7 separate regions of the Homo sapiens genome follow, and regions 1, 2, 3, 5, 6 and 7 are each linked to region 4. The links are contacts of gene promoters, found by promoter capture Hi-C in blood cells and fetal thymus (Javierre and others, 2016). All regions are on one chromosome and are shown on one strand. The core of a region is centred on a gene start or on the middle of the fragment in contact, and the rest is flanking DNA. Distances in the headings are between cores, read along the strand shown.

What was found. The method cuts DNA at HindIII sites, captures the fragments that hold promoters and counts their contacts. A CHiCAGO score of 5 or more calls a contact.
Region 1: a contact is called between a fragment that was not itself captured here and the fragment with the promoter of WWOX in region 4, in 6 of 17 cell types (activated CD4 T cells, non-activated CD4 T cells, total CD4 T cells and 3 more). The highest score is 19.0, in activated CD4 T cells.
Region 2: a contact is called between a fragment that was not itself captured here and the fragment with the promoter of WWOX in region 4, in 7 of 17 cell types (non-activated CD4 T cells, activated CD4 T cells, naive CD8 T cells and 4 more). The highest score is 20.3, in non-activated CD4 T cells.
Region 3: a contact is called between a fragment that was not itself captured here and the fragment with the promoter of WWOX in region 4, in 10 of 17 cell types (non-activated CD4 T cells, naive CD8 T cells, total CD4 T cells and 7 more). The highest score is 31.7, in non-activated CD4 T cells.
Region 5: a contact is called between a fragment that was not itself captured here and the fragment with the promoter of WWOX in region 4, in 3 of 17 cell types (naive CD8 T cells, non-activated CD4 T cells and total CD4 T cells). The highest score is 8.9, in naive CD8 T cells.
Region 6: the fragment with the promoter of CFDP1 here is called in contact with the fragment with the promoter of WWOX in region 4 in 5 of 17 cell types (activated CD4 T cells, naive CD4 T cells, monocytes and 2 more); the score reaches 8.5 in activated CD4 T cells.
Region 7: a contact is called between a fragment that was not itself captured here and the fragment with the promoter of WWOX in region 4, in 6 of 17 cell types (total CD4 T cells, activated CD4 T cells, naive CD4 T cells and 3 more). The highest score is 8.4, in total CD4 T cells.

Annotation. Positions count from the first base shown.
Region 1 is chr16:80,798,782-80,802,019 of GRCh38, forward strand. All of the region lies in intron 1 of CDYL2 (chromodomain Y like 2), which reads right to left. Among named protein-coding and RNA genes, the nearest start is that of CDYL2, 4.2 kb to the right of the region's middle. The HindIII fragment of the contact is 5,077 bases long and covers 1-3,238 here.
Region 2 is chr16:81,082,928-81,085,863 of GRCh38, forward strand. It overlaps GCSH (glycine cleavage system protein H), which reads right to left. Exons shown (of 5, transcript NM_004483.5): 4 at 1,536-1,667; 5 at 1-36. Among named protein-coding and RNA genes, the nearest start is that of C16orf46, 7.2 kb to the left of the region's middle. The HindIII fragment of the contact is 4,810 bases long and covers 1-2,936 here.
Region 3 is chr16:80,999,654-81,002,590 of GRCh38, forward strand. The region is part of intron 1 of CMC2 (C-X9-C motif containing 2); the gene reads right to left. Among named protein-coding and RNA genes, the nearest start is that of CMC2, 5.8 kb to the right of the region's middle. The HindIII fragment of the contact is 2,873 bases long and covers 39-2,911 here.
Region 4 is chr16:78,098,404-78,101,405 of GRCh38, forward strand. WWOX (WW domain containing oxidoreductase) reads left to right here and starts at 1,251. Exons shown (of 9, transcript NM_016373.4): 1 at 1,251-1,482. The coding sequence starts at 1,376. RefSeq lists an enhancer at 1,485-1,984. The HindIII fragment of the contact is 3,217 bases long and covers 1-2,520 here.
Region 5 is chr16:81,046,505-81,049,686 of GRCh38, forward strand. It overlaps ATMIN (ATM interactor), which reads left to right. Exons shown (of 4, transcript NM_015251.3): 4 at 1-846. Among named protein-coding and RNA genes, the nearest start is that of CENPN-AS1, 7.8 kb to the left of the region's middle. The HindIII fragment of the contact is 3,345 bases long and covers 1-3,116 here.
Region 6 is chr16:75,431,778-75,434,977 of GRCh38, forward strand. CFDP1 (craniofacial development protein 1) reads right to left here and starts at 1,726. Exons shown (of 7, transcript NM_006324.3): 1 at 1,512-1,726. The coding sequence starts at 1,575. RefSeq lists a silencer at 1,162-1,401 and enhancers at 1,712-2,221, 1,765-2,332. The HindIII fragment of the contact is 10,360 bases long and covers 1-3,200 here.
Region 7 is chr16:81,019,654-81,023,017 of GRCh38, forward strand. CENPN (centromere protein N) reads left to right here. Exons shown (of 11, transcript NM_001100624.3): 6 at 447-623; 7 at 2,944-3,045. CENPN-AS1 (CENPN antisense RNA 1) reads right to left here. Exons shown (of 4, transcript XR_007065134.1): 4 at 639-848. Among named protein-coding and RNA genes, the nearest start is that of CENPN, 14 kb to the left of the region's middle. The HindIII fragment of the contact is 2,115 bases long and covers 1,058-3,172 here.

The sequences.
Region 1 (3,238 bases), core at 225-2,724, 2.7 Mb after region 4:
AAATTGTTTATGCTGAAGAAACTAGTAAGATATGCAAATACATAATTGTGTTTATGGATGTTCATAACATCAATATTTATAATGGTTTACAAATGGAAACTATCTAGATGTCCGATAACAGGGGATTAGTTATAGAAAACATGGTACATTCAAGGGAAAATTAAACTGTCATTTAAAACTCATAACACAAAATAATATTTTAGCATTTGAGAAAATGCTTACCTACATTATCTATATATAGATATATATAGATATATAGATATTTAAGTGAAAATAAAATAGGTTACAAAGAATATGTACCCAGTATCCCGATTTGGTTTTTTTAAATTACATAAACATGTGTAGAAAACAAACCCAGTCCTACTTTTGTAACTACCCCCAAAAGCTAACATTTTAATTAATTCAGATATCACATTAGTATTTATTGAACATCAATTACATGCTAAATATATAACAATAGTTCTCTTAGATATTATTTCTTTTTTGCTTTCATTTTTTAGAGATGCTTTCAAAAACAGAAAAGATAATATTCTCAAGCAACTCCTAGAGAACACCATCATCCCTATTAACACTTCCCCACTGTACCGTAAAATACTTGTTTTCTTAACTATATCTCCCACTGGGCTCCTGGAGGACGTGATCATCATTGTTCCCCAAGTGCCTCTCATATATTTGGTGGTCTATAAATATGAAATAACAAATGAATGATGGTGCTATGAATTCAACCACACCCACACTTCTTTTCACCATCTGAGAGAAACAGAAGGATCCAAATCTTGGTAATCTAAATGCATGCCTCCAATACAAAGATCTTTAATAATCACCAGGCCTGAACCACTTCTTAGCAATTGGCCAGGCTGCAAGGAGCCGTATCAACTCCTTACTAGGACAGCTTAAGCCCCTGAAGAAATTATCTCATGCACTAAGGAATGACCTGACATAAAAGCCTACTTGAAAATAAGCTGATGCCTGCCCAGAGGGAATAATTTAAAATAACTTTCAAGAGGTGGGAGAATCATATACTCATTCCATATTCATCAGGTGTCTTCTACGTGCCCAAGAATCAATCCAATCCAACTGATAACATTTTCTCTGAAGATAGCTGCCTCTTCAAATACTGGTACAGAGATTCAAGAAGCTGTACCACAGACCATCAGTTCTGCTAGTACATGTATTTCTTTGACAGGAATGACCTCAGGTGTGATTCGTAAATAGAGGAATGACGTCTGTGTGGGTTCATATGCAGTTTTTCCTAGCTTGTTTATACTTTGCAGCAATCAAGGTAAGCACTCTCACAGGGAAAGAGAAAGACTTAACAATGTGTGAAGACCTCAGAACAAAGCTGGAAATGCACTCAAGTGCCTTTCTTTAACATGAATAGTGGCTGATTTTCTAGCTTCAAGAACCACTATGCTTTCCACTATGTTGACCTCATGGCAAAACTGCAAGAACAGCTATGAAAACATTTCTCCTTATACAGATAAACGAAGAAGGCTACACCCTGGATCAGACTTAATTTCAATAAAATCGTCTCTCTTAGAAGCAAATGCCCTGTGCAATCCACAGAGACAAGAGGGAAGCAAAGCTCAATGTGGACACGGCAAAGGCTAGACCAACTTGCAAAAAAAGTTCCACAGCTCTTTAGCGGTCTGCCTCAATCCTGTTTTTCCCATAAACTCTGTTATTCTTAGTGGTGCGTGATTTTGCAGAATGCCAGGTGCAGATAGAGTCAGCCCTCCATATCCATGGGTTCCACATCTGTGGATTCAACCAACCACAAACCGAAAAGATCCAAAAAAAAATGGATAGTTGTGGACACTTCCCTACAGAGAGAGAACTGAGCCACCCCTACACACGGTTTTACCACCACCAAGAGGCCATGAGCTTGGGAAAGAAAAAGACAATAGAGGGTAACACTCAACAGAAGGACAACGAAGGTCACACAAGGGTACTTTATATACTTAAACCAGTCTTCTGCTCACTGATTCAGTCAACAAGTAATTGAACGTACAAGCAGGTAGAAACCCAGAGAGAGACAAGAAAACTGAGAGCCTATCCCACTGATTATTTCTTCCTGACACCCAAACATCTTAGCAAAAGATTGACTAGAATCAGGTTGCAAACTCTAAAGTCTACTGGAGCCCAGTGAATGATTTAAGAAGAATGGGTGCCTGGTAATAGGGAGCAAGGGGACAGGGACAAGCTAGAGATCATATGCTCCATCTAAAAGTGTTCAAATCGTTTTTCTTATCTACCATTGAGCCAAGTCAAAATGCGTATGCAGCCTAGACCTGGCTCACAGGCTGCCACTCCATGGCCCCTATGTTTAGCCGAATATAGACCAGGGCATCTGGCTAAGAAATTTCACTTTCGATCCAGACAGATACCTGACTCTAAGACATAACCCAAAATTTAAAATCACCTTCCTATAAGTGATGGCTACAATGCACCAGAAGATGATGAGAACTCCACTACAGGAGAAACAAACCAGAACTATCTATCAAGATCCAAGATTTTGGAACCTGAGCTTGATTTCTTATTTCTTCACTATGATTGAAGAGTGCTATTACATAAACAAAGTTTTCGTTTTCTGGTGTCTTTAAAAATCAGCACCTATTCCTAACAACTGCTTTATGGAGGTTCACTCTTTACAACTTAATTGTCTGAAATGCCAAAGAAAAGATGAAGAATCTCTACAATCCAAATCACACTTCACCATAAAGGCTCAAAGATAATGTCAGCAGACACACAGGTGAAATATATCAATTACAAACGTAAGAACTCTTGGCCCACTAAAAACGTGGTTTCTTGAGTAGAGATTGCGAGAAGCCATTTTATGTACACTTTAGTATAATATTTAATGAAAGTAATAAACAGGTCTCATAATTTAGAATGAAATCTGTTTTCTTTTTTTCCTTTCAAGGCCAGTCAACATACACTGGATATTCCAATATTTTTCTTAAATCAATATGCTACTTTTTACCCACATAACAACTTTACAGTCAGAAATATATATGCTAATGTACACTTAGCACTTCTTAATTGTTCTTAAAGCTAAATTTGAACAATAAATTAAATTTCTCAGTATATGTTATGTAATGTAGACACAGGCTATAAAAATGTTGACATTCGTTATATTCTCGTAATGCAATTTAGCCCTTTTAGTAATGACTATGCAAATAATCAGCCATGGGAAAGCCATTTTCCATCTAGTACAATTACCTACTATCACAGAAGT
Region 2 (2,936 bases), core at 186-2,685, 3.0 Mb after region 4:
CTGAAGGGTTACTCAGTGTCATCTTGATCAGCCAACCTGCAACCAAAAGACAACCTTATATTCCACATTAACTTTTTAAAAAGTCAAATTCATCCAAAACGTAAAATAAATTTCTGAGCGCCTCAATCTTGTATTCTTTACAAAAACCATACATTATTTGTTCATAGAACTTTAAATTTTAGCCTTAAGAATTAAAATACTTGTATATAACAAATGAAAATAATTATGGCTAGAATAGATTCCACCATAATAAATTAAGAACTCTTAGGTTGTAATAAGCATCAGAAAATGACATTTAAATCTTTAAGGGCCGGGCACGGTGGCTCATGCCTGTAATCCCAGTACTTTGGGAAGCGAAGGCAAGCAAATCACTTGAGGCTAGGAGCTCTAGACCAGCCTGGCCAACATAGTGGAACCCCATCTCTACCAAAACCACAAAAATTAGCTGGGCGTGGTGGCAGTTGCCCTTGATCCCAGCTACTGGGAAGCTGAGGCAGAAGAAGTGCTTGAACCCGAGAAGGGGAGGTTGCAGTGCACCGAGATCACGCCACTGCACTCCAGCCTGGGCGACAGAGGGAGACTCTGTCTCAAAAAAATAATAAAAATAAGTCCTTAAATATATGATCCAAATACACAAGACCAGGTATGTCTTTAACAAATGGAACACTAACTACTGAGGTTAACGGGATTAGAAAGCAGTAGTAATTAGAAGGGCTAGGTGACAGACAAAAGAGAACTACAACCTAATCCTAGCTTTGCCATTTATCAGCCATGAGACCCTGACAGATAAATCCTTTGGAGCCTCTATTCATCTACAAAATAGAGAAAATTGCTGTTAGCTTACCTGATTAGATTATAAGGGTGAAAATGTGAGAAAACCAAAAATTAATGCAAAATATATATTTTTTTACCTCCCATGTCACACAATATGAGTGGCTGCTTTATGTCTGAAAAAGTAAATACTTTGCAGATGTTTACACCAAAACCAAAGAATCTACAACTGATATCAAGAAACTGCAAAATAAGGTAATGCTTTTATCATCAGAGATTTTTTTTTCTTTTTTTGAGAAGGTCTCGCTCTGTCACTCAGGCTGGAGTGGAGTGGTGCGATCTTGGCTCACTATAGACTGCAGCCTTGACCTCCCAGGTTCAAGCAATTCTCCCACCTCAGCCTCCCTAGTAACTGAGACTACAGGCACATTCCACCACAGCCAGCTAATTTTTGTATTTCTATAGAGACAGAGTTTCACCATGTTGCCCAGGCTGGTCTCCAACTCCTGGACTAAAGCAATCCACCCACCTTGGCCTCCCAAAGTGCTGGGATCACAGGCGCGAGCCACTGCGCCTAGCCAGAAATCTTAAACATAACTTTAAGTATTCAACTAACCTCTGTTTTTCTTTTAAAGCAGAACATCTCTATTTAGTACCAAGAAGTAGAAAAAGATGAAGTCACAATCAGCTAAACTTGCTTTAAATTCTAGATAAAATATTTACTGTAGTAGTAATTCCTTGAGAAATTTCTAGCAACAGCTTACCATCTTCATAACAAGATTTGTTTACAAGTCCTGGATTTTCTGCAAGAGCTTCATTAATTTCAGTTACTTCTCCTGATAAAGGAGAATAGAGTTCACTAGCAGCTTTCACACTTTCCAAAGCACCAAACTCATCTAAGTGGAAAAAAAATTAAAGAAAACATGAAATGTTAAAAGTCAGTTACTTGAAAACATAAAATACGAAAAAGTAGATTCCTGTCATACAGCTATGATTTTAAAATTCCAAATTTCTTTTTTTTTTTTTTTTGAGATGGAGTCTCGCTCTGTTGCCCAGGCTGGAGTGCAGTGGCGCAATCTCACGTCACTGCAAGCTCCACCTCCCAAGGGTTCATGCCATTCTCCTGCCTCAGCCTCCCGAGTAGCTGGGACTACAGGCGCCCACCTGCCACCACGCCCGTCTAATTTTTTGTATTTGTAGTAGAGACGGGGTTTCACTGTGTTAGCTAGGATGGTCTCAATCTCCTGATGCCGTGATCCGCCCGCCTCGGCCTCCCAAAGTGCTGGGATTATAGGCATAAGCCACTGCACCTGGCTCTTTTTTTTTTTTTTTTTTGAGACGGAGTCTCGCTCTGTCACCAGGCTACAGTACAATGGTGTGTTCTAGGCTCACTGCCACCTCTGCCTCCCGGGTTCAAGCCATTCTCCTGCCTCAGCCTCCCAAGTAGCTAGGATTACAGGCGCGCACCACCACGCCCAGCTAATTTTTGTATTTTTAGTAGAGACAGCGTTTCACTGTGTTGGCCAAGCTGGTCTTGAACTCCTGACCTCGTGATCAACCCGCCTCAGCCTCCCAAAGTGCTGGGATTATAACCGTGAGCCACCGTGCCTGGCCTACATTTCTTTAATTAAAAATAAAACCATAAGTTTTGTCAGGCTATAATAACCACGAGAAGGGTATATATTGTCTCAATAAAGTGGACCTATCTGTGTGTCCTGGACACAGTAAATAACAAATGGTGATGTGCCTGAATGCCAGATGTGTGTAGGTTCAGTAAAACTCCATGTTCTTGCAACTTAGCTGTGGCTCAGAAAAAAACAAAATGAAAACTTTAGAATGTTCCAGTGACAGTGAAGTACCCTGTATCAGATAACAATTATAAGCTCTGGGCCAGGCGTGGTGGCTCATGCCTGTAATTCCAGCACTTTGGAAGACCAAGGCAGGAAGATCACCTGAGGTCAGTAGTTTGAAACCAGCCTAGCCAACATGGTCTCTACTAAAATACAAAAAAATTAGCCGGGCGTGGTGGTGGGCGCCTATAATCCCAGCTACTTGGGAGACTGAGGCAGGAGAATCACTTGAACCCGGGAGGTGGAGGTTGCAGTGAGCCGAGACCATGCCATTGCAGTCCAGCCTTGGTGACAGTGTGAGACTCCGTCTCAAAA
Region 3 (2,937 bases), core at 225-2,724, 2.9 Mb after region 4:
CTACTTCAGACTATAAGGCTACAATAACCAAATCAGCAAGCTTCTCCTACAAAAACACACACATGGACCAATGGAACATAACAGCCCAGAAATAAAGCCACACACTTTTGATCTTTGACAAAGTCAACAAAAATAAGCAATGGCAAAAGGACTTCCCATTCAATAAATGGTGCTGGGATAGTTGGCTAGCTATATGCAGAAGAATAAAAGTGGACCCCTACCTTTCATCATATACAAAAATTAACTCTAGATAGATTACAGATTTACACAGAATGCCTCAAACTATAAGAATCCTAGAAGAAAACCCAGGAAACACCATTCTGGACATTCACCTTCGGAAGAGAATTAGGACTAAGTACTCAAACACAATTACAACAAAAACTGAAACCTAATTAAAGATCTCAAAACAGCAAAAGAAACTATGAATAGAATAAAGACAACCTACAGAATAGGACAAAATATTCACAAACTATGCATCCAACAAAGGTCTAATATCCAGAATCTATAAAGAAATTAATTCAACAAGTAAAAAATAAATAATCCCATTAAAAAGTGGGCAAAAGGCTGGGCACGGTAGCTCACACCTGTAATCCCAGCGCTTTGGGAGGCCAAGGCAGGCAGATCACAAGGTCAGGAGTTCGAGACCAGCCTGGCCAATATGGTGAAACCCCATCTCTACTAAAGATGCAAAAATTAGCCGGGTGTGGTGGCGGGCGCCTGTAGTCCCAGCTACTCGAGAGGCTGAGGAAGGAGAATCGCTTGAACCCAGGAGGCGGAGGTTGCAGTGAGCCAAGATGGCGCCACTGCACTCCAGCCTAGGTAACAGAGTGAGACTCCGTCTCGAAAAAACAAAACAAATAAACAAATTTTAAAAAAAAGTGGGCAAAAGACATCAACAGCCACTTCTCAAAAGATATACAAGTGGCCAAAAAACATGAAAAAATGCTCAACATCACTAATCATCAGAGAAATGCAAATCAAAACCACAATGAGATATCACCTCACATCAGTGAGAATGGCTATTACTAAAAAGTCAAAAAAACACAGATGCTGGGGGAGGTTGTGAGAAAAGAGAATGCTTATACACTGTTGTGGGAATGTCAATTAGTTCACCCACTGTGGAAAGCAGTCTGGAGAGTTCTCAAAGAGCTTAAAACAGCTACCACTAGATCCAGCAATCCCATTACTGGGTATATAGCCAAAAGAAAATAAACCGTTTTACAAAAAGAAAAACATGCACTCATAAGTTCTTTGTAGCTCTATTCACAATAGCAAAGATATGGAATCAACCTAAGTGTCTATCAGTAATGGATTGGATAAAGAAAATATGTACATATACACCATGGAATACTAAACAGCCATAAAAAAGGACGAAATTATGTCCTTTGCAGCAACATGGATGCAGCTGGAAGCCATTATCCTAAGTGAATTAACGCAGCAACAGAAAGCCAAATATGGCATATTCTCACTTATAAGTGGGAGCTAAACACTGGATACTCACAGACATAAAGATGGCAACAAAAGACATTGGGGACTAATAGACGGTAGAAGGAGGGTAAGGGCTGAAAAACCATTAGGTACTATGCTCACTTACCTGCATGATGGGATCAACAGTACCCCAAACCTCAGTGTCATCCAATGTACCCATGTAAGAAACCTGCACATTACTTATATCCAAAATCTGAAATAAAATTTGAAATTATATATTTTTTAAAAGGCAAATACTTTAACATTCCACTTATACGAGGCACCTAAAGTAGTCAAAATCAAAGAGACGGAAAGTGGAATGGTGGTTACCAGAGGGAGGTGGAAGGGCAGGAGGAGATGAATGGGGAGTTACTGTTTAACAAGCAGTTTTACAAGATAAAAAGTATTATGGAGATGGACGGTGGTGATGGTTGCACAACATTATTAATGTATCTGATACCACTGAACTGTGCATTTAAATGGTTAAGATGGTAAATTTTATGTTACGTGCATTTCACCATGCGAATTTTATGGTATGTAAATTATACCTCAAGCTGTTAAAAAAAAACCTGTGAGAAATTCAAACTGCCCATCCACCTCCCACTCAACAGAAACAAAAAACTGTCTGAACAAATAATTCCAAAGGATTATAGCATAGCTACTATTTCAATTGCAACTTATAAAAATGCAGTAGGTCCCTGTACTATTCAGTAACTACTAAACACACACACACACACACACACACCACAGCTGAAGACCACAAATAAAGCCATTGCACCTAGTTAAGTATTCATTTGAAACGAAAAAAGAAAATGCAGCCAAGTTTAAATTTTGTTTGCCTGCCACTGACTCCAAGATCCTTCCAATGATATCAATTTTTGCCTTAGAAAAATTAAGTTTCATACAGTTCAGCAATTTAAGTTATCCAATATCGTACCAATATTCTGCACCTACATTTATGTGAAGTGTTAGTTTTCTGGTTTCTGCCTTATTTTTTCCTAAAGAAAACATACACTGGTATAGGCCAGATGCGGTGGCTCACACCTGTAATCCCAGCACTTTGGGAGGCTGAGGCAGGTGGATCACCTGAAGTCAAGAGTTCAAGACCAACCTGGCCAACATGCCGAAACCCCATCTCTACTAAAAATTCAAAAAATTAGCTGGGCGTGTTGGTGGGCGCCTGTAATCCCAGCTACTTGGGAGGCCGAAGCAGGAGAATCACTTGAACCTGGGAGGCAAGGTTGCAGTGAGCCAAGATGGCACCACTGACCTCCAGCTTGGGTAACAGCGCAAGTCTCCATCTCAAAAACAACAATAACAGAAAACAGACACTGGTTTAATCACTAGAAAATGTCTCTAACATTTTCTAAATGTATTTGACAAAATATTTTTGCACATTTCTATCAACCGGCACTCAAATGTGTGCCTTTACAATTCAGAAACAAGCTTATGATGTACTGAAATGATTTC
Region 4 (3,002 bases), core at 1-2,500:
TTTTATTTTCCTTCCTTCCTTCCTTCCTTCCTTCCTTCCTTCCTTCCTTCCTTCCTTCCTTCCTTCCTCCCTCCCTCCCTCCCTCCCTCCCTTTCTTTCCAGATTCTGGACCTATTCCAGACTTACTAAAGGAAATTCTCTAAAGGTGAGGCAGTTTTTTAAAGACAGCAGCTCTCTCTGTCGTCCATGCTGGAGTGCAGTGGCCCGATCATAGCTCACTGCAGCCTCGACTTCTTGGGCTCAAGTGATCCTCCCCCTTCAGCCTCAATGAGTAGCTGGGACTACCGATGTGCACTACCACGCCCGGCAAACTAAAAAAATAATTATTTTTGGTAAAGACAGGGGTCTTGCGATGTTGCCCAGGCTGTTCTCAAACTCCTGGCCTCAAGTGATCCTCCTGCCTCAGCCTCCTAATGTGTTTGGATTACAGGCATGAGCCACTGAGCCCGGCCTAGCTACCCTGTCTGAGTTGTGCCCACTACACAAAGGTGTCAGCTACATGTGATGTCTGTGCATTTCTGGCCTGGACCGCACATTAAGTGCTCCGTAAACATCAGTCTCTATTATCAACAGTCTCTATTATCAATCAGTCTCTATTATCATCAGTCTCTATTATCATGAGTCTCTATTAAACAACAGTCTCTATTATCACAGTCTCTATTATGTGTTTTGGCTGAAAGAAAGTTCTCTAAAACCAGGAAATCAGGAATCAGCAGTTTTAAGTTCTCCAGGTTATATTTTAACATTGTGTTCATATGCAAAACAAAGGTTGTGAATCAGCACGAATGCTGGCAAGCCCTGGAAGGTTTGTGATCACGGACTTTCACGAGACCCCAAGGCAAGGAGAGACAGAAGCCCAGGACAACAGCATGGGCGCCGCTTTTTAGTCGGGCGCCGCTTTTTGGTCAGGCGCCACCTGGACTACATTTCCCATATCCAATTGCCGGGCTCCTGCAGGATTGGCCAGAACAACGCGGAAGTGATTACGGGTCGCCCAGCAACGGGCGGAGTCCTGGCCCGAAACTGGATGCGCACGCCCCTTCCCTGCGGCGGGGAGGCTGACAAGGCTCCGCTCTATCTCTAGCGCCTCGGAGCGCTCTCCGGCTTTGCTGTCTAGCCCGGCGGCAGCGCGATCTCTTAGGCACTTTCACCGCCTTCCTCTCCAGGCCCTGCCCCTTTGACGCCGGCCGTCGCGATATTGCGGAGACTGGATTTCAGCTTCGTGGTCGGCGGAGCGGCCCCTGGAGGGCGCAGTGCGCAGGCGTGAGCGGTCGGGCCCCGACGCGCGCGGGTCTCGTTTGGAGCGGGAGTGAGTTCCTGAGCGAGTGGACCCGGCAGCGGGCGATAGGGGGGCCAGGTGCCTCCACAGTCAGCCATGGCAGCGCTGCGCTACGCGGGGCTGGACGACACGGACAGTGAGGACGAGCTGCCTCCGGGCTGGGAGGAGAGAACCACCAAGGACGGCTGGGTTTACTACGCCAAGTAAGGGGGCCGCAGTGGGGCCGCGGACGCACCTGGGACCCTGCACAGCCCACGGACGCCACCTGCGCGGGGAGGACGCGCACTCCAGCGCAGCGCGTGCGGTGCAAAGTGAAAGTAACTGTTAAGGAGCTTCAGGGAAAAGGGTCCAGGGTTCCCAGTAGGGGCCGGCCCCCTTGGTGGGCCTCGGGTCCAGCGGGGGTCACCTGGTGGCTTCCCGGCGCGCCCTCTGCTGTTCAGGATGCAGCACTGCGCGGCGCGGCGAGGGCAAAGCGGCCTCATCCCCGCCAAAAAATAAAGATGTTTTAAAAAGCGCACATGCTCAGCTCCCTCCTGCAGGCTCTGGGTTGCAGGGATAGGAGTTTTGTTGTGTTTTGTTTTGTTTTGTCCAGACCGGTATTGCTCAGTCATCCAGGCTGGAGTGCAGGGGTGCCATCATAGCCCACTGTAGCCTCTACCTACTGGGTTCAGACAATCCTCTCATCTCAGCCTCTTGAGTGGCTGGGACTACAAGCGTGCACTACTATGCCCGACTAATTTTTTAAGTATTTGTAGAGACTAGGGTCGCACCATGTTGCCCAGGCTGGTCTCGAACTACTGGGCTCAAGCAGGCCACCTGCCTCAGCCTCCAGAATTGAGATTACAGGCGTGAGCCACTGCGCCTAGCCAGGAGTATTTTTTAGTAGCAGTCCTAGATAGCTTCACTATCATTTCCTGGGAAAGTTTTGGAAACCCCAGCAGAGCCTTCATCTTTAACTGTGTGACCTTGGGCCATTGAAATAACGTTTAATCTTGGTTTTTTCACCTGTAAAATGGGTTGATACGAGGGTCAGTTCAGGCACTGTGCGTAAAGCACATAGCACCGTGTCTAGTAGGTACTCTCTGTTCCTTAACTGTCGTTCCTTGATTGCTCTTAAGATACGACAGTGCCTCTTATATCGGCACCTTAGAATCACCTAGGAAATGTCCTAAATACACGTTTTGGGTCTCCATAGAGAACCTACTGTAGCCGACTCTCAACTTTGGGAGTCTCTTTTTTTAAGCTTTCCAGGTGAGGTGGAATATCACCTGGTTTTGAGAAACATGGATGTAAATCTGATTTTCAGCATCTGGGAAACTTTTTTTGTAAGAGCCTTTTTCTGGGCCCCACTTCCAGAGGGTTTTTCTTTTTTTTTTTTCTTTTGAGACGGAGTCTTGCTCTGTCGCCCAGGCTGGAGTGCAGCGGCGCGATCTCGGCTCACTGCAGCCTCCGCCTCCCGGGTTCACGCCATTCTCCTGCCTCAGCCTCCCGAGTAGCTGGGACTACAGGCGCCCGCCACCACGCCCGGCTAAGTTTTTGTGTTTTTAGTAGAGACGGGGTTTCACCGTGTTAGCCAGGATGGTCTCGATCTCCTGACCTCGTGATCCTCCCGCCTCGGCCTCTCAAAGTGCTGGGATTACAGGCGTGAGCTACCGCTCCCGGCCTTTTTTTTTTTTTTTTTAAAGACAGGGTCTCGCTCCGTCGCCCAAACTGGAGTGCCGTG
Region 5 (3,182 bases), core at 194-2,693, 2.9 Mb after region 4:
TTGCTTCAATAATCAAGAATGCTTTGTGTGTTTTGAGGTAGGAGCATGATCAAGTATGCTTTGGGGATTTTCTGTATTTAGGAGATCCTGGATTCTTAATTGTTGGCTAAGTTCCAGTCAAGTAGGAATCAGTGCAGCCTGTAAGTTCTCCACATTGACACACACACACACACACACACACACACACGACATGCTCCTTTCTGTGGCACATGCCTGTATTACTGAAAGCTAAATCCTCAAAACCTAGTAAGGGGACTAATGATTCATTAAAGTAAATTGATGGTTTTGCTACTAATTCCTATCCCATACATTTGACACAAAAGAAGTGTTGGTAATGGATAAATAACATATCCCGGGCAGATGAGCTCAACCTAGTAGGTAAGAGTTTGGTTTGGTCACAGTTGCCTATGAGTGTGGGTTTCAAAAGAAACATAAAGCCTTAACTTAGAATTTCATTATGTTTTAGAATCATCACTGCCTTAATATTCAAGCATCTATTTAAGTCCTAATAAAGGAGAAATGCATGTTTATGGCTTTTTTGTAAATATAAATGCAGTGATCTATGGCTTAAAAAATTTGTTTCTGTGACAATGTTTGTAAATCTAGCCAATAGAGTCATTTACAGAAGAAAAATGAGCATGTAATAATACAAGAACTGTTTCCCCCTCAAAACCTGAACCTGAATTATTTGTAAAAACTGAAATTTAATGATTAAAGAGAAGCCAGAATTGTACCCTTTTTTGTGAATTCTTGAACGTACTCATAAATATGACTTATTGTATTGCCTTAAGTTTTCACTCATTGTCTTTTGAAAGCCATATGATAAAATGATTTTATTTAATAATACCCAGTTATTTTCATTGTTTTTTCTTTTGTTCATGAAAATATGCTAACAGACAATTTTCCTAGAAAAGACACTCCAGGTAATACCAGCCAGATGGCTGACTAGAGGTCCCTAATGCTTGTTGCCCCCACAGAAAAGGACCAAAACAACAAATAGAATACATTTTGACTAGAGTATCTAAAAGAAAATGAGGCCTGGCATGGTGGCTCGTGCCTGTAATCCCAGCACTTTGGGAGGCTGAGGCGGGTGGATCACCTGAGGTCAGAAGTTCGAGACTGGCCTGGCCAACATGGTGAAACCCCATCTCTACTAAAAATGCAATAATTAGCTGGGCGTGATGGTGCATGCCTGTAATCCTAGCTACTCAGGAGGCTGAGGCAGGAGAATCGCTTGAACCTGGGAGGCAGAGGTTGCAGTGAGCCAAGCCTGCACCACTGTACTCCACCCTGGATGGCAAAGTGAGACTCTGTCTCAAAAAAAAAAAAAAAAAAAGAAAAAATGCTGGAGTATATCAGGGGAGTGGTAGAGAACCTGTGGCACACAGAGACTCAGGACGGCCAGAGAGAGAAGGGAGTGAAATACCCTGCTCTGCCACCCCGTCTCCCCAGTCAGGATGAGCTCAGAACCAAGATGGATTTCTGCCTGGGGGAAAAGGAAGGCAGAAGGTCGCCAGCAGGTCCCATTACCACCACAGACACCTGTAGTCTTTTCTGCTGGAGAATCCTGCAGTTCTCTCAAGCCCTGAGCCCAGTTTAGAAAGCATCCTCGAATTCACATGACTGCATTACTGCAGAGAAAAAGCCGACATTGTGACCCAAGCTACTACAGCATGGCACCATTTTCAACCTGGACCCACTGCTCTAGGGGACAGTAACCACTGCATCTCTCCATTCCTGAGGTTCTGCTATCACTACACCATCTCACACACAGCAGTGCAGCATCCCCCAGCTGAGGGGCTACAGCTCCCTACTCCTTGGGAACAAGCTGCCCAAGAGCTGCTCCATCTTAACCATCCTCGCGGCAGCACAGTCCTGAACTCAACTACTCAGAACCTAGGCCTAGCAGAACAGCCATGACCCTAGCACCCAGGCCCATGCAGTGCCCTGCCTCCAAAGGAACAGGAAGTGTTGCTCAGTGGGGAAGCCAAGCTCAAGCCAGTGGACCAGCCCTGCATCCCCTCAGCATGTAAAAAGCCGATACTCCATCCACAAAGGAGCCATACTCAACCCAGGATGCCAGCCACACAGTCTACTGCAGCCTAGGCCACTGAGGCACTTGCAGGCATTGCTGACATTGATTACAGCTGAAGAACCTGCATGAAGACCACACTACTACTGTACCCATACAGAACCAAAGCCAGTGTGCCTTACTCAACTGATACTTAGGCCCCATCTGCACATTAAAGCCTTTCCCTATGAAAGCCACTGCATAGAACTGGAAAAGGCAGCTGATCCATCAGCTGCAAAGAAATCAACATAGGAACACAAGAAACATGAAAAAGCAAACAAATATGACACCACCAAAGAAACATGATAATTCTCCAATAACTGACCCCAAAGTTAGATAGAAATTTATGAATTTCTTGAAAAGAAATTCAAAATAATGATCTTGAGGAAGCTCAGCAAGACACAAGAGAATACAGATAAGCAAAATAATTCTTGATCTGAATGAGAAATTCAAGAGAGACAGATATTTTTAAAAAAGAACAGAAATCTGATCTGAAGAATTTAATGAATGAAATAAAAAATACAATTGAGGGCTTCAACAGCAGACTAGATCAAGCAGAAAAAAAAAAATTTTCCATTTTTTTTTTGAGACAGAGTCTCCCTCTGTCACCGAGGCTGGAGTGCAGTGGTGCCATCTTGCTGCACTGCAACTTCCACCTCCTGGGTTCAAGCGGTTCTCGTGCCTCAGCCTCCTGAGTATCTTGGATTACAGGTGTTTGCCACCACGCCTGGCTAATTTTTGTATTTTTAGTAGAGAGGAGGTTTCATCATGTTGGCTAGTCTGGTCCTGAACTCCTGACCTCAGGTGATCTGCCTGCCTCAGCCTCCCAAAGTGCTGGGATTACAGGTGTGAGCCACCGCACCCAGCCAGAAAATAAAAAGAATTTCTGAATTTGAAGACAGCTCTTTTGAAATAACACATTCAAAGGGAATAAAGAGAGAATGAAAAAGAGTGAAGAAAGTTGACAGGACTTATGGGGACATCATTAAGAGAACAGATACTCACATTATGAGATTTTCGGAGGGAGATGGAGAAAGGCACAGAAAGCTTATTTAATGAAATAATAGCTGAAAACTTCCAAAGTCCTGGAAGAGATATATGGACATCCAGA
Region 6 (3,200 bases), core at 476-2,975, 2.7 Mb before region 4:
TAAAAATGATACCTACTATACATGGGTTAAATCAATAGACAACAGAAATATAATACCAAATTCAAAAGGTGGAAAGAAGTTTCTCCTGAGGAATATTAAATAAAATAGGGATGAGGGTGATGGGACTGGCTAACTTTTTTTTTTTTTTTTTTGAGACGGAGTCTCGCTCTGTCACCCAGGCTGGAGTGCAGTGGTGTGATCTCGGCTCACTGCAACCTCCACCTCCCGAGTTCAAGCGATTCTCCTGCTCCAGCCTCCTGAGGAGCTGGGACTACAGGCGCGTGCCACCATGCCCAGCTAATTTTTGTGTTTTTAGTACAGACGGGGTTTTACCATGTTGTCCAGGATGGTCTCGATCTCCAGACCTTGTGATCCACCCACCTCAGCCTCCCAAAGTGTTGGGATTACAAGCATGAGCCACCGCGCCAGGAATGGAATGGCTAGTTTTCAACGTGCCTTTTAGAAATACTTCACTAGCCGGGGCGCGGTGGCTCATGCCTGTAATCCCAGCACTTTGGGTGGCTGAGGTGGGAGGATCACTTGAGCCCACGAGTTCGAGACCAGCCTGGGCAACATAGCAAGATGCCATTTCTAAAAAAAAAAAAAAAAAAAAAAATTTAAAAAATTAGCGGGCGTGGCAGCCTGCACCTGCAGTCCCAGCTACTCCAGAGGCTGAGACGGGAGGATCGCTTGAGCCCAGGAGTCTGAGGTTGCAGTGAGCCAAGATCGCATCACTGCACTCCAGCCTAGACAACAGCAAGACCCTGTCTTTAAATAAAACAGAACAGAACAAAGTAAAACAAAGAGAATAGGGACGACTCCTGGGTTGTGTTTTGTTAGTCTGTTTGTTTCTTGTTTGTCTAGTCTTTCAACTGAAGATGTGAATGGGTGAAGATACTTTCAACGAGACGGTTTGTCTGGGGAAGACCAAGAAGGGGGAACAGAAAGATTTCTTCAGTAAGATTCATTCTCACCCCGTTCGGGTTGAGATCCCTAAGGAAAGAAAGTTCTGAGAGGAGAGGATGGGTGGACGTCACAATGAGGCAAAAAGCATCAAAGGGGGAACTTTCTATCAGAACTTTCTAACAACCAGGCGGAGAGCGGACAGCTCTATCTTGGACGGGGTGGTGGCCAGCAGCTCTCTCGGGCCAGGGCTGAAAAAAACCTCCAAGGCTCGGACTGCCGCCCCGACTTCTGAAGCAGCGGTGTCGTTCGGGGCTGACCGACGAGCGTCCCTAGCGACAAGGGGCCGTGTCCATGTGCCGGTTCCCGCGCTGCAAGAGGGGGCGGCGGCCGGAGCTGCCCAACGGGAGGGGAGCACAGAACCGCCACGCGCACACGCCTCGGGCCGGAGCGGCCGAGGATGAGGGGCCTGAGGGAGCGGACGCTCGAGAACAGGAGCCCCCCTGGACCACCTGGGCCACAGGGCAGACGCCCGCGGGGGCAGAGCGCGCCTCACGTGAGGCGTGGGGCGGGGCAATTCGCTTCTCGCCTCAGGCGGAATCGCTCACCCGACGGCACGTAGTCCTCGTCCTCCTCCGACGTAGAGAAGTCTTCGGAGTCGAATTCCTCCATGTTGCTGCCGCTCGACGCTGGTCAAACTCACAAGACCGCAGCAGCCGCCTCCAACGGCAAAGCTCTAGGGAGAGACCATAGAGCCCCGGCGGCGGCGACGGCAGCTAGGGCGGCCCCCGACAGCGCTTTGCACATGCGCAGAGAGTACTACGTGGTTGCCCTACGACACTTCCGGCCGATGCCTCCGGGCTGGCGTCCCTGAAGCCCTCGCTGGGAGCCCGAACCCGCCCGGACGCGGTGCATGCTGGAACTTGTAGTCTTCGGCGCTGCCTCGCCGCCTTAATATAATAAACCTGCTTAAATAAAATTACATATCTATGGAAATACAGGTGACCTTCATTAATCATTAATTCGTAATGCCAAATTCACTTACTTGCTAAAATGTATTTGTAACCCTAAAATCAATCATCACGGTACTGTCTGGGGTTCTTCCCGGGCATGCGCAGAGGGTGAAAATTTGGAGTTGGCGGAGGTAAGGTTCCCAGCTGAAGTTTGAACTGGGAGAAGCGCCGCCTTCTAGTCGCAGCTCCTGTGCTGTAAACAAAGAGTCCTTTCCGCAGTCTGTTTACTGACACTTTTTTTTCTGCTTTTTGTGGGTGGTTTTGCTTTCTAAAATGGCCCCCAAGCGTAGTGCTTAAGCTCTGCCCAGTGTTCCTAAGCGAAAGAAGACCGTGATGTGCCTTACGGAGAAAGTCCGCGTGTTGGATAAGCTCCAATCAGGCATGAGTTACAGTGCTGTTGGCCATGAGCTCAATGTTAACGAGTCGACAATCCGGTACATCAAGAAAAAGGAAAAGGAAATTCACCGATCTGTCCGTGAGGCCGCTCCGGATAGTGCTGAAGTGACCTCCATCGTGCGTGATGAAGCTATGACAAAGATGGAAAAGATGGAAAAGCGGCTAAATTTGTGGATTCATGAGATGTCAATCGATTAAAAAAAACATAGTGGACAGCATTGTGGTGAGGCTGAAAGCCAAAGATATCTGTGGTCACGTTACCCAGAGTCAAAGAAATGCTAAGCCCTTCTCGGCGAGTGCTGGCCGGCTCGCGCGTTTCAAAAGGCGATACGGGGTGAAAAATGTTAAACTTGCAGGTGAGGCGAGCTCTGCAGATCAGGAGGCTGCGGAAGAATTTTAAAAATACTTGCTAAGTGTTATACAGGAAAAGGGTTATGTGAAAGAGCAGGTTTTCAATGCGGATGAGACTGGCTTATTTTACAAGGATGTTGGCAAACGAACCTATATAATGCAAACGGCCTCCAAAGCCCCTGGCTTTAAATCATGCCAGGATCATGCACCCTTGTTATTGTGCGCCAATGCCAAGAGCGACTAAAGTGCAAACTCCTAATGGTGTAAAGAACCCAAAATCCACAAGCACTTAACGGGAAATACGTGAACCATCTGCCAGTCTATTGGAGGTGGAACAAAAAAGTGTGGATGATGTCTGATTGGTTCCACAACTGCTTCATCCCAGAAGCTGAACACTGTCTCCAGGGCAGAAACCTTGCCTTCAAGGGTTTTTTGTTTTGTTTTGTTTTGTTTTTTGTTTGTTTGGGTTTGTTTTGTTTTGGTTTGGTTTTGAAACGGAGTCTCGCTCTGTCGCCCAGGCTGGAGTGCAGTGGCGCA
Region 7 (3,364 bases), core at 865-3,364, 2.9 Mb after region 4:
CAGTTTTCAGGACAAGCCCAAGAAATTATTGAAAAAACAATCACCTCTACAAAAAAAAACTTTTTTAAAAAAATTAGCCAGGCATGATGGCACGTGCCTGTGGTCTCAGCTACTAGGGAGGCTGAGATGGGATTGCTTGAGCCCAGGAAGTTGAGGCTGCCGTGAGCAGGCTATGATCATGCCACAGCACTCCAGCCTGAGCAACTGAGCAAGACCTAGTCTCAAAAAAAAAAAAAGAACTGAAAAGGATTTTTTTTTTTTAAAATCACAAAATGTTTTCCCAAAGATTCTCAAAATACTCATGAAAAGCAGAAAAGACTGCCAGGTCTCAACCTGCATACAAGAGTATAGGGACATCATTGTTCACCCCTAATAAGCACCTGGAGTTGGTGCCACAGTGAAATTTTAATTAGGAAATTAAGCCTTTTTTTTTTTTCTTTAATAAGGTGACAGTCAGCTTCAGAGAAACTGAGGAGAATGCAGTCTGGATTCGAATTGCCTGGGGAACACAGTACACAAAGCCAAACCAGTACAAACCTACCTACGTGGTGTACTACTCCCAGACTCCGTACGCCTTCACGTCCTCCTCCATGCTGAGGCGCAATACACCGCTTCTGGGTCAGGTATGGAAAAAATTATTACAAGCTATAATATTTTATTATCCTATCTCAAAGGTCTATATAGATTTTAACTGTTGAATAAGTATTTGATAGAGAATACTAGGCCAGGTGCAGTGGCATGTACCTGTGGTCCCAGCTACTTGGGAGGCTGAAGTGGGAGGATTGCTCGTGCCCACGAGTCCAAGGCTGCCGTGAGCTGCGATCACAAGACAAAGCAACACCCCACCTCTAAAAAAACAAAAAAAAGATATAGAATACCACATGTAATTCTTGTTCTCCTAAAATAAGAAACAGAGTGTTGTTATCTGCAGATGGGAACATGGCATAAGATATTAGATTGGAGCTATATTTTATTGTTTTTTGATCTAGAAATAATGCATACTTAATATAAAAAAATGCAACCGATACAGAAGTCTCTAAAGATAAAAAGTCTTCAAAGCTTCATACCCCTTTTCCCTATTCCGTTCGTTCAAAATAACTACTGTCAAAGTTTGCTATTTCCTTTGACAAGATGGTTATTAGAAAAGCCAGGGTAGGCCAGGCGCGGTGCTCATGTCTGTAATCCCAATACTTTGGGAGGCCGAGGCAGGTGGATCACCTGAAGTCAGGAGTTTGAGACCAGCCTGGCCAACATGGTAAAACCCTGTCTCTACTAAAAATACAAAAAAATTAGCCAGGCGTGGTGGTGGGCACCTGTAATCCCAGTTACTTGGGAGGCTGAGGCAGGAGAATTGCTTGAACCCGGGAGGCAGAGGTTGCAGTGAGCCCATATCGCACCATTGCACTCCAGCCTGGGCAACGAGAAAGAAACTCCGTCTTAAAAAAAAAAAAAAATTAACATAACATTTCCACGTGGTTACAAATGAATATACCTCATTACTTTTTCATAATTGTATAATTTGCTTATTAATGAACATTATTTTCATTTGTAACCATTTCTCCCACATTCCATACACAAGGAGACTGCTTTCACATAAGATGTAGCCTCTGTTCCGAGCCTGCTTCTCTTTATGGTTCTGCCTTTAATATCACAGGCTTCCTAGCATCTTTCCCCAAAGTTAGTTCTCCCTAAATTGGCCTGGCACTTGCTGCTACCACTGTTAGCATTCACAACCTCAGTGGCACCTTCAATTGGTTCCAGAGCTGCCACATCAGCTGGTTGTAGGCGAGCAGCTCCACCATCCTGGCTGCATCATGTCCTGTCACTCCACAGCAGAGTGGGGTGGAGGTGCGGTGTGGAGTACCAAGGACTCCACTGTTGTGACCAGGCGAGCCCTAGGTAGTAAATGACTACTTGCTTGTCATTTAAGTTTTTTGGTGGTTTATTGAAATGGCAAAGACTGCTACTCACTTCTATTTCCTTAAAACACTTCTTTACATTTGGGGTCTCCTGCTCCATGATACATAGTGGTCTTTCATCCACTTATAGCCAGGTGAGTACACCTTGCCACAGGTAGTTTAAACATTACCCCAAAGGCTAATGTTCTTTTTTTTTTTTTGAGACAGGGTCTCACTCTGTCACCCAGGGTGGGGTGCAGTGGGGCGATCTTGGCTCACTGCACCCTCCACCCCCAAGGTTCAAGCGATTCTCCTGCCTCAGCCTCCCAAGTAGCTGGGACTACAAGCACTCACCACTATGCCTGGCTAACTTATTTTTCTATTTTTAGTGGAGGTGGGGTTTCACCATGTTGCCCAGGCTGGTCTCAAACTCCCGACTTCAAGTGATCCACCTGCCTTGGCCTGCCAAAGCGCTGGGATTACAGCCGTGAGCCACTGCGCGGACTAATGTTCATTTCTATTGTGTATCTTAAGGCAAACTTGTCTGTTCTCTAGATCAGGTTAAACATCTTATCCTATCATAGTAATTCTGTTTCAGTCTTCTTTTCCCCTAATGACAGGAAACTCTTATGAGCTGTATTCAATACACACTTATTTCTTCAGTATTTGCCAAAAAGCATACATATCTGCGTTTTTGTATGGCAATATCATTATGGTATTAGATGACTGATATTCAAAAACAGTAACATTTTGAGTATTTATTGTTTATTCCAAAGTCTGAACTTGATTTATTAGTAACTCCTAACTTTAAACAGGATCGCTTTTCTAAGAAATGATACAAAAGACTGCATTTATCAGAGTATTAATGCCATTAACCACTTTGTTTTTGAAGCTCAGTAACAGGCTATCAGATGTTTTTCTAGACTTCTTTTTACACTTACGGGGAAACTATTCCCTAATTGCAGCTCTTACATTTTACTTTGACAAGTATTATAAACACAGAGGCAGTAATCCTAGTAATAGTCTTGCAAATTTTCATTTCAAGGCGCTGACAATTGCTAGCAAACACCATCAGATTGTGAAAATGGACCTGAGAAGTCGGTATCTGGACTCTCTTAAGGCTATTGTTTTTAAACAGTATAATCAGGTGAGCCAATCAGTGACTCTCTTTAAAGGTAAATCTTTATTTTCTCTTTGACACAGGAGTTAGAAGCTACTGGGAAAATCTACCTCCGACAAGAGGAGATCATTTTAGATATTACCGAAATGAAGAAAGCTTGCAATTAGTGAACATGAAAGGAAAATAAAAATTCCTCACAGTCATCTTTTTATAATTGTATTGTGTTTTATACCACTCATTAGTCACTGGAGTCTGTGTTGTAGATCTCAGCTTCCAAATCACCTGATCACACTAGAATTTGTTTTCTCTTTAGAGAAACTTCACATTATCTTTTGAAGCTAAATAT